Linked DNA regions of Homo sapiens: region 1 is linked to region 2. Evidence: promoter capture Hi-C in human tissues and cell types (Jung and others, 2019). All regions are on one chromosome and are shown on one strand. Each heading gives the region's core, a stretch centred on a gene start or on the middle of the fragment in contact. The rest is flanking DNA. Distances are from core to core; before and after follow the strand shown.

Region 1 (4,444 bases), core at 1,187-3,686, 200 kb after region 2:
GCCTTTCACCATGGTTGTAAGTTTCCTGAGGACTACCCAGCAATGCGAAACTGTGAGTCAATTAAACCTCTTTCATTTATAAATTACCCAGTCTCAGGCAGTTCTTTATAGCAGCATGAGAACGGACTAATACAGGGGTCTCACTCTGTTGCTCAGGCTTGTCTCAAACTCCTGGTCTTAAGCAATCCTCCTGCCTCAGCCTCCCAAGTTGCTGAGATTATAAGTATGAGCCACTGCGCCCAGCTCTGGGGGAGGAGCTTTTATAAATGCAAACCCTTGGTCTCTGTACCCACTGAGTGATTAAGTAGATATGGGATGAGGCTCAGGAATCTGTATTTTCAAGTACCCCCAGATAATTACGTACACTAAAGTTTTTGTGTATAAAATACTAAAGTAGTACTATTTACACTTTAGTACACACTTTGAGTACTTCTGATACAGGTGGTCTGTAAACCACAATTTGAGAGATGAATATACCCTTGTAAAAGATGCTAAAGTGGAAAGTTTCACACATCTCAAATAAGACAAGATTTCACACAATTGCATAGAACATCATTACCCAGGAAAAATAGCACTGTGGCCTTATCTCCATGGTCACTTGCATTCTTGGCAAAATCTCCTACCACTGGGTGAGTCATGTTATGAAACCAACTCTCCCTGAGGTTTTGATTTTGTTTCTGTTTGGTCTCATTATGGCTCCAGAATGTTTTATAAGAGATCAGTCTTTTTTTTTTTTTTTTTTTTTTTTTTTTTGAGATGGAGTCTCACTCTGTCACCCAGGCTAGAGTGCAATGACACAATCTCGGCTCACTGCAGCCTCCCGGGTTCAAGCAATTCTCCTGCCTGGGCCTCCGAGTAGCTGGGATTATGGGCACCTGCCACCATGCCCGGGTAATTTTTTGTATTTTTAGTAGAGACAGGGTTTCACCATGTTGGCCAGGCTGGTCTTGAACTGACCTCAGGTGATCCGCCCACCTCGGCCTCCCAAAGTGCTGGAATTACAGCCCTGCCCGGCCAAGAGATCAGTCTCTTCAACTCTCTTCCTTGCTTCCTTACAAACAGAACCTTATGGTAACCCCTTAAAACATTTTGTAACATTGAAACACTTGGCAAGTAATATTTTCATTTAGATTTAATTTAGGCTATTGGTATTGTTTATTTCCTATGTATAATTTTGTTGAGTTTTAAGATACTGGGTAAACTTCCTCACCCCAACCCCAAGTTTAATTGTCACATTTATAGTAGGCATCTATTCTGCAGCTTTATAACTTGAATGTATTTGAATGTTTTGACAGTCCTTATTATCACATTGATTCTCTTCTGCCTAGATTCTACTAAAGGTGAACATTTCCCTTCTGACTGAAGTTTGTATTACACTCATTAATAGCAATTTTCTTTAGTGTGGATTCTCTGGTGAATGTGAACTTCTGAGGCTTGAGAGAAGCCCGTACTGAACTCATCACATTTATGGGGTCTCTCTCCCCTATGCACTTGCTCATCAGTGCCAAGTTTTGCACTCTGAGAAAAATTCTCACCGCTCTTAGAAATGATAATGATGTGCTTTCTCTCCTGAATGGAGGGAGGGTACTACAAAGGAGAAGAGAGGAGCACCTGGTGAAGCTCTCACTACGTTCATCACACAGGTAGGGTTGCTCTCCCATACGGTTCCTGAGTCCCATGTGGATCTCCAACTGTACAATAACCCTGACCACATTCCCTTCACTTCAAAGGTTTTCCTCCTGCACAGGTGCTTTCATAATTGGAAAAATTTTTGTACCAGCTGATACCCACAATTCATGCATCATATTTATAAGCCCCCTCTATTGTGTGCACTCCAAGAGGAATTGGGCCAAAGCTTTTAACACATTCTTCACATATACAAGGTTCTCTTCTGTCCGATTGTCTCATGATCTCAAAGGAAATACCTTAGCTGAAGGCCTACCACAAACATTGGCAGGGTTTCTCTCCTTGTGGAATGTCTGAATTTGGTGATAGTTGGTAAGGGGTTCAGCTATATCTGAGTCATTCATCTATATATAATTTCTCTGTGAGTTATGGTATATCCTTGCACATTTGAGTGATTACAAAAAAATTTTCTGGCTGGGTGCGGTGGCTTATGCCTGTAATCCCAGCACTTTGGGAGGCTGAGGTGGGCAGATCATGAGATCAAGAAGATCGAGACCATCCTGTCCAACCAACATAGTGAAACCCTGTCTATACTAAAAATACAAAAATTAGCTGGGCATAGTGGCACATGCCGGTAGTCCCAGCTACTCGGAAGGCTGAGGCAGGAGAATTGCTTGAACCCAGGAGGCGGAGGTTGCAGTGAGCCGAGATCACGCCACTGAACTCCAGCCTGGTGACAGAGCGAGACTCCATCTCAAAAAAAAATAAAAATAAAAATCCATAGTTATTACAAAATTAGGACTTCTGTTCTATGTTTCTTTGGTTCCCGTTTGTGACAAATTGTGATTTCTGGTTATAAATATTCGTAACCCTAAGTACAGAGTTGGATTAGGTTTCTGAGCTATTAGCTCAGCGTTCCCCAACCTTTTGAGTACCAGGGACCAGTTTCATAGAAGACAATTTTTCCATGGACAGGGGCGAGGAGGGGGAAGGATTTCGGAATGAAACTGTTCCACTTCAGATCATCAGGCATTAGTTAGATTCTCATAAGGAGCACACAGCCTAGATCCCTTGCGTGCACAGTTCACAATAGGGTTTGCGCTGCTATGAGAATCTAATGCTGCCGCTGATCTGACAGAAGGCGGACGGAGCTCAGGTGGTAATGCTTGCCACCCACCGCTCACCTTTTGCTGTGTGTCTAGGTTCCTAACAGGCCACAGACTGGTACCTGTGGCTGGGGGACTGGGAACCCCTGCATTAGGTAATGGAGAGTGTTGCTCTATAAAGCCAGGCAACAGTTGACTTTGGAGCTTCTCTAAGCAATATTTTCTGGGAGAAGGTCTCTCACTCCCACATTTTACTCTTCTTTCAATATTGTTCTGGATCCCAAAGTAACCTTTGCTGCCTGAAGAATGTATTTCGGCCTTCACTCACATAGGACTTTTTTAAAAACTCACCACCATACTAACAAGGAATCATAGAATTTTATATAAGGCCCTGGCTGGGCAGATTTCTCCGTTTCTCAAGCTGTATCCTCTTGATTTTCTGTATTTTTTTAGTATCATCCCCTCAAAGATTAACCTTACCATTCTTGCTCCTGCAGGTTCCCCTTCCCATGTATGATGAGAGAAAGATCTTATCTGTGTTCCTGGAATCCTCCCCTTCAGGAGTCATAATGTAGTTGTGAATCTGAGTTATCTGACTGTCACCTTTTCCTATATTTGGCAGCAAGAAAGTTTTCTGTAAAGAATAATTCTTTTTTTTTTTTTTTTTTTTGAGATGAAGTCTCACTCTTGTCCCCCAGGTGGAGTGCGATGGCCTCCCGGGTTCAAGCGATTCTCCTGCCTCAGCCCCCCGAGTAGCTGGGATTACAGGCGCCTGCCACCATGCCCGGCTAATTTGTGTATTTTTAGCAGAGAGGGGGTTTCACCATGTCGGCCAGGCTGGTCTAGAACTCCTGACCTCACGTGATCCACCCACCTCAGCCTCCCAAAATGCTGGGATTACGGGCATGAGCCACCGCACCCGGCCTAAATTCTTTTATTTGAAGATTTCCTACATAGTTTTCATTCCAGCCTTCTATAAGAATCAATGAGGGCAAGTAAAGGTTATTTTTGCTTTTCTCCCACAGAGTTCAGTATTTGAGAATAGGAAGACAAAGACAGGCTTGTGTTTAAAGTCTTTTTTTTGAGACAGGGTCTCACTCTGTTGCCCAGGCTGGAGCGTAGTGGCGCGATCTCGGCTCACTGCAACCTCCACCTCCCAGCTTCAAATGACCCTCTTGCCTCAGCCTCCCAAGTAGCTGGGATTACACGTATCTGCCACCACACCCAGCTAGTTTTCGTATTTTTGGTAGAGACGGGGTTTCACCATGTTGGCCAGGCTGATCTCAAACTCCTGATCTCACGTGATCCACCTGCCTTGGCCTCCCAAAGTGCTGGGATTACACATGTGAGCCACCGCACCTGGCCCCTATGTTTGAATTCTGACACCATCAATTTTTTACAGTATGCCACGGGACGTGCTGTGAAATCTCTCTATAATTGAGTCTTCTCTTTCAGTAAAACAGGAATAGCAACCTCTTTCCATGACATAGGGCTATAATGAAGATGATGTGTGACTGTGATGACAAAATGTACTTGTACAATGTCCAGTACATAGGAAACACTAGTAATACTAATTTCCCTTTTGTGTTCTTTTTGAGACAGAGTCTTGCTCTGTTGCCCAGGCTGGAGTGCAGTGGCATGGCCGCAGCTCACTGCAACCTCTGCCTCCCAGATTCAAGAGATTCTCCAGCCTCAGCCTCCTGAGTAGCTGG
Region 2 (4,505 bases), core at 2,006-4,505:
GGGGGTCCTAGCTAACAGTACTCCCTGGACTCCCCTCACTTGGGCTGCCACTGAGGCAGATTGGGAAGAGGAGAAAGGATTTGACCCAAAGTGTAATGGTCTGGCTAGGAGTCCAACAGCAGGAAGTACTTCCTGGCAAGACCCTGCAGTGTGACTGAGAAACCCCACATCTGGAGCTCCTCACAAACAGGAGAGACCTTCTGTGTGGGCCCCCTCCTCCAGCCCCAATAATAACAACCGTCTTTCAAGCTCAGACAGGCCCCTGGAGCTTACCAAGCTCTTTCCCACTCTATTACCTCATCCAAGAGAGAGGCCGCAAGGTTGGGGTTTCTACCCGCTTTGACAACCTACAGACCTAAAGCTCAGAGAGGCCCAGCAATCAACCCAACGTCACAGAGCACATAAGAGGTGGGGTTCCTGACACCTCTGTCCCCTTTGACCTCTAAGATGGGTGACCAATTCCCTGAGATCCTTAAACACCAGGACACTTTCACACCATACTTCTTCCCCCAGAGTTCCCAAGACATGCCCTGGCCCTGGGCTCCCGGGGACAAGTGGTCAGGACAAGCACGGCCCTGGCGAGGGCATTTCCTGGCATCAGGAAAGGGCAGGATGTGGGGCAAAGGTGCCAGTGGATTAGCTCCTGGAGAGGAAGGGGCGGTCCTTTCAAAGGAGGCACCAACAGCAGCTGGCCAGGGGACAGGAGGCAGGTCCTTCACCTCCACTGACCCTTGTGGGGGCTGTAAGGCCAAGCCTGGGGGGGTAAGGACCCCACCTCAGAGCCCTATTGGCTTCCCCAGGCCCTGCCATGCCTTGGAAAAGTCCCTTCCCAAGAGGAGCCCACGGAGGGCACAGTTGTTCTCTGGGGGGTGTCTCACCCTCCTTAGGCACTCAAGGAGGCTGCTCTGTAGCCACTCCTAAGAAGTAGTCCCCATCCCCTCACCCCCAACTCCACCAGCCCTGGGCCTTCCTCACTCCAACGGGCCTCTTTATAGCCACAAATATTCATCCTAGGCCTCCCAATGGACACTAAGGACTGGGCTACTACAAACCGTTGACCCTGAACCGAAGCTTGACCTCATGTCCTGAGCAATTTCAACTCTCTGCCCCAGCCTAGCCCAGCTGAGGTCTCTGCACAGAGTCAAGGTTGCCACCCCCAACGCACTTAATGGCCGAGAGAGCCCTGCTGTCTTCCCCCCCTGCCCCTCCCTGTGCCGCATCTTTCTCCCCTTCACCTCTGAAATTATGTGGGCCCAGTTCAGATGGGGCAGAGGCAGGCCAGCAAGCACCCGAGAAACAGGCCGAAGGACAGACCCAGAGACAGGTGGAAAAGACAGGTAGAGGAAGAGTGGACAGTCAGGTGGACAGGTGGATAGGCAGATGCACAGACAGGCACCCGGATAACTGCACAGGCCACAGATGGATGGAAACAGGCAAGCAGAAGGACTGCGGACAGTTAGGTGGAAGGGTGAGCAGACTGGCCAACTCGCACACAGGTGGAAACTCAGGCTGGCAGAGGGACAGCCAGGCCAGCAGGAGGGCTGCTAGACAGTCAGGTGGGCAGGCAGGTGGGCCACCCAGGAGACCCCAGCGCCAAAGGGCCCTCTCTGGTGGCAGCAAAAAGGGATTAATAGCCACACATTTTCCAGGGACCAGAGGTCTCTCTCTGGGCACCTCTGAGCGTCCCAGCGTCAGGCCCAGCCCTTCAACTGATATCTGCGGGGCCTCTCATGTTCCTGGCTGGGCCAGGCCGTACCCCAAGACTGAGCTCTGAGCTGCCAAAATTCACTCTTCACACCCAAGAGGGGTCAGTGTTTTTGAAAGTTGTAGGAGCCTGGTGAGAGGGAGGAGGGGGCCCCAGCAGCGTCAGTGTTTCCAAACCTACCCCTCTCCTCTTTCTTTTTCCCCTGGTGCCTAGAGCCAGGCCTGGTGCTGCCAGCCAACAAGGCAGGCGAGCTGGGCCAAGCCGGCAGGGTAGGGCAGGGCAGGCAGGGCGGCCGCCGTTGCCACTGGGAAGTTGAGGGTGGAGGGGAAGACTGAGCGAAGACACAGATCAAGTCGGACACAGCATATGCGAGTGTCAGGGCCCAGGGGGCCCACAGGGACCCCCACACACCCACAGTCAGCTGGGCAGGGGTAGGAATGAGGGCCGCCCTGGAGAGGAGCACCCCTGAGGGGAGCCCTTCATAGCTCAGAGCTGGGGAGCAGGTGACAGAAGCGTGTGGGAGCCAAGGGTTCCTCTTTGTGTCTGGGACACAGGGAGGCAGGGGTGGGGAAGAGGAAAAGGGCGCCCACTCCAGGGGCCCCAGACTTCGCCAAGCGGACTTGGGGGAGGCAGCTGGCGGTCGGGAGTACCTGGGACAGAGGAGCAGAGATTGGCGGTCAGGATGGAAATAAGCAGTTGCGGTGCGGGGAGGTCAGAAGCGAGGTCAAGCAGGGGTCAGGCCTGGGAGATCAGGGCTTAGGGTCGGGCTCAGCGAGGGGATCAGAAACCGGGCTTAGGCCTGGGGGGAGAGAGATGAGGGTCGGCCCTGAGGCAGGGGGGTAGAAGGCGGAGCCAGGGCGGGGCGGCCGTGCCCCGGGAGGCCAGGCTTGCGCGGGGAAACGCGGAAGGGCGCGGGGTCGCAAACTCACATGAAGACGTGGTAGACGAAGGCCCAGCCGCGGGGCCGCTCCAGCACGTTGTAGACCCAGTTCTGCAGGCGGCGGTAGCGCTTGTGCGCGGCCGAGGAGCGCTGGCCGCAGGCGGAGCCCGAGCCGGAGCCCGGCCCAGGGAGGGGCGCGCCCGGCGGCAGGGGGCTGCCCAGGAGGCCGAGGCGGCGCGGGGAGCCGCCCCCGCCCGCCTCGCCCTGTTCGCTCTGCACGGCCGTGAGCGCCACTAGCTCCGCGCGGGGGGCGTCCCCGGGCGGGGGACCCAGGCCGAGGCGGCGCGGGGGGGCCTCGGCCATGGGCGGCGCCGGGCTGGGGGCGCCGGGGCCCGGGCACGGTCCGGGGCGGGGGCGCGCTCGGGGCGCTCAGAGACGCATGGCTCGGACCCGGGGCCAGAGGGGCGACCCGGGGCGGGCGCGGGCGGCGGGGGCTAGGGGCCGGGCCGGGGCCGCGGGCGGGCGCTCGGAGCCTGGGGGCCGCCGGAGCCCGCACTGACCTCCCGCTTCCCCGGCGACTGGGGCTGCTCTTTCCGACTCCAACTCTCTTATTACGCGCTCCATGCCGCTCGCCTTTCCACCTGCCACCGGCGCGCGCCGCTCACATGTCACCCTCCCCCGCCCCGCCCCTCCCCCGCCCGCCCCGCGGCCGCCTTCCCAAATCGGGAGGGAGCGAGCGAGCAAGCGAGGCGAGGCGGAGGGAGGGAACGCGCGGAGCAGGCGGCGGGGCAGGGCGCACGGGCGGCCGAGTTGGTGCCTGGGCCGAACCGCGTGGCGGGGGCAGCGCGCGGGGCCGGGAAGCCGGACGCGTGCAAGTGGTGTCCACCGCTGCGTGGGGCAGTGTGGCCCCGAAGGCCAGCCCGGGGTGGGACGCCTCGTGTGTGCTTGTGGAAAGTGGAATGTGGAGTTGTGGCCGCGGGCGGCAGGGGAAGGGACGCAGTGTCCCGTGGAGTTTAGGTGTAGACCGGTGGAACGGCGTCTACTTGTGTGTGCAGGGTGGGTGGCTGTGGGTCTACCAGGTGCGGGGATGGAGTCAGTGAGGTGTGAGTTATGGGTCGGGTGTGGGTGGCTGCGAAAGTGGAGGTGGAGTCCGAAGGGGATGAGGTGTGTCCGTTGGGGTCGAGCACTGTGTGCCTGGTGCGGGTGCTTAAAGTGTGCCCAGTGCTGTGTGTGGCTGGGTGGGCAGCGGCGGTTGTCCTGCTCTTACCTGAAAGGCCTGGAGCCCACGGGCTGCTAGGCAGCATCAGGGTGTGTGGAACACAGTGGGCCTGGGTGTGTCTTTCTCCCACCAACTGCCACCTCTGAGCTTCCCTTCATCGTGATGGGGGAAGAGCCACCCTGCCCAGAAGAGGATCCTCCCCGATGGAGGGGCCTGCTCCCCTGCCCCACTCCCAGGTCAGGGAACTGGGTTTGGGCAGATGGAGTGTTGGGAGATGAGCTCTAAGCCAGCCTTAGAGGGGACACACACCCCCTACCCAAGGCCCACAGAATCCCAGCCAGAAAAGGGGATACTTTGTCCCAGGGCATTCCCTCTCCAGCTGGAAAGTTTTTCTTAGTCCCCGACCTCCATCTCTCTGGCTGTAGGGGGCAGTCCCTCTCCTTTAGCCCTCCTGGGCCCTGCACAGGGTTGGTAACTTGGGTTTCCCGATCCTCTTTCCCTCTTCCTCCACGGAAAGCTGCGGCCACACCAGCCGCTCCCTCCGCAGGCCCTGCCCCAGGGTGAGCCTTCCGCAGCAAACTCTTCCCGGTTCCTCCGGGAGGATCTCGAGGGACGAAGCCGAGCGGGAGGGGCGGGGGAAGGGGCGGGAAGGCGAGCTCGATTCTCAGCTGTCAGCAAAGGCAGCATTGATCTGCTGAGCG

Evidence for each region. Contacts are between HindIII fragments. The study calls those that stand out against the background at their distance.
Region 1: a fragment that was not itself captured here is called in contact with the fragment with the promoter of KCNQ4 in region 2 in 1 of the 25 tissues and cell types used here (spleen).

What each region holds. Positions count from the first base shown.
Region 1 is chr1:40,579,811-40,584,254 of GRCh38, reverse strand. No RefSeq gene overlaps it. Among named protein-coding and RNA genes, the nearest start is that of ZNF684, 50 kb to the right of the region's middle. The HindIII fragment of the contact is 6,720 bases long and covers 1-4,444 here.
Region 2 is chr1:40,782,537-40,787,041 of GRCh38, reverse strand. It overlaps KCNQ4 (potassium voltage-gated channel subfamily Q member 4), which reads right to left and starts at 3,255. Exons shown (of 14, transcript NM_004700.4): 1 at 2,635-3,255. The coding sequence starts at 2,948. The HindIII fragment of the contact is 5,875 bases long and covers 232-4,505 here.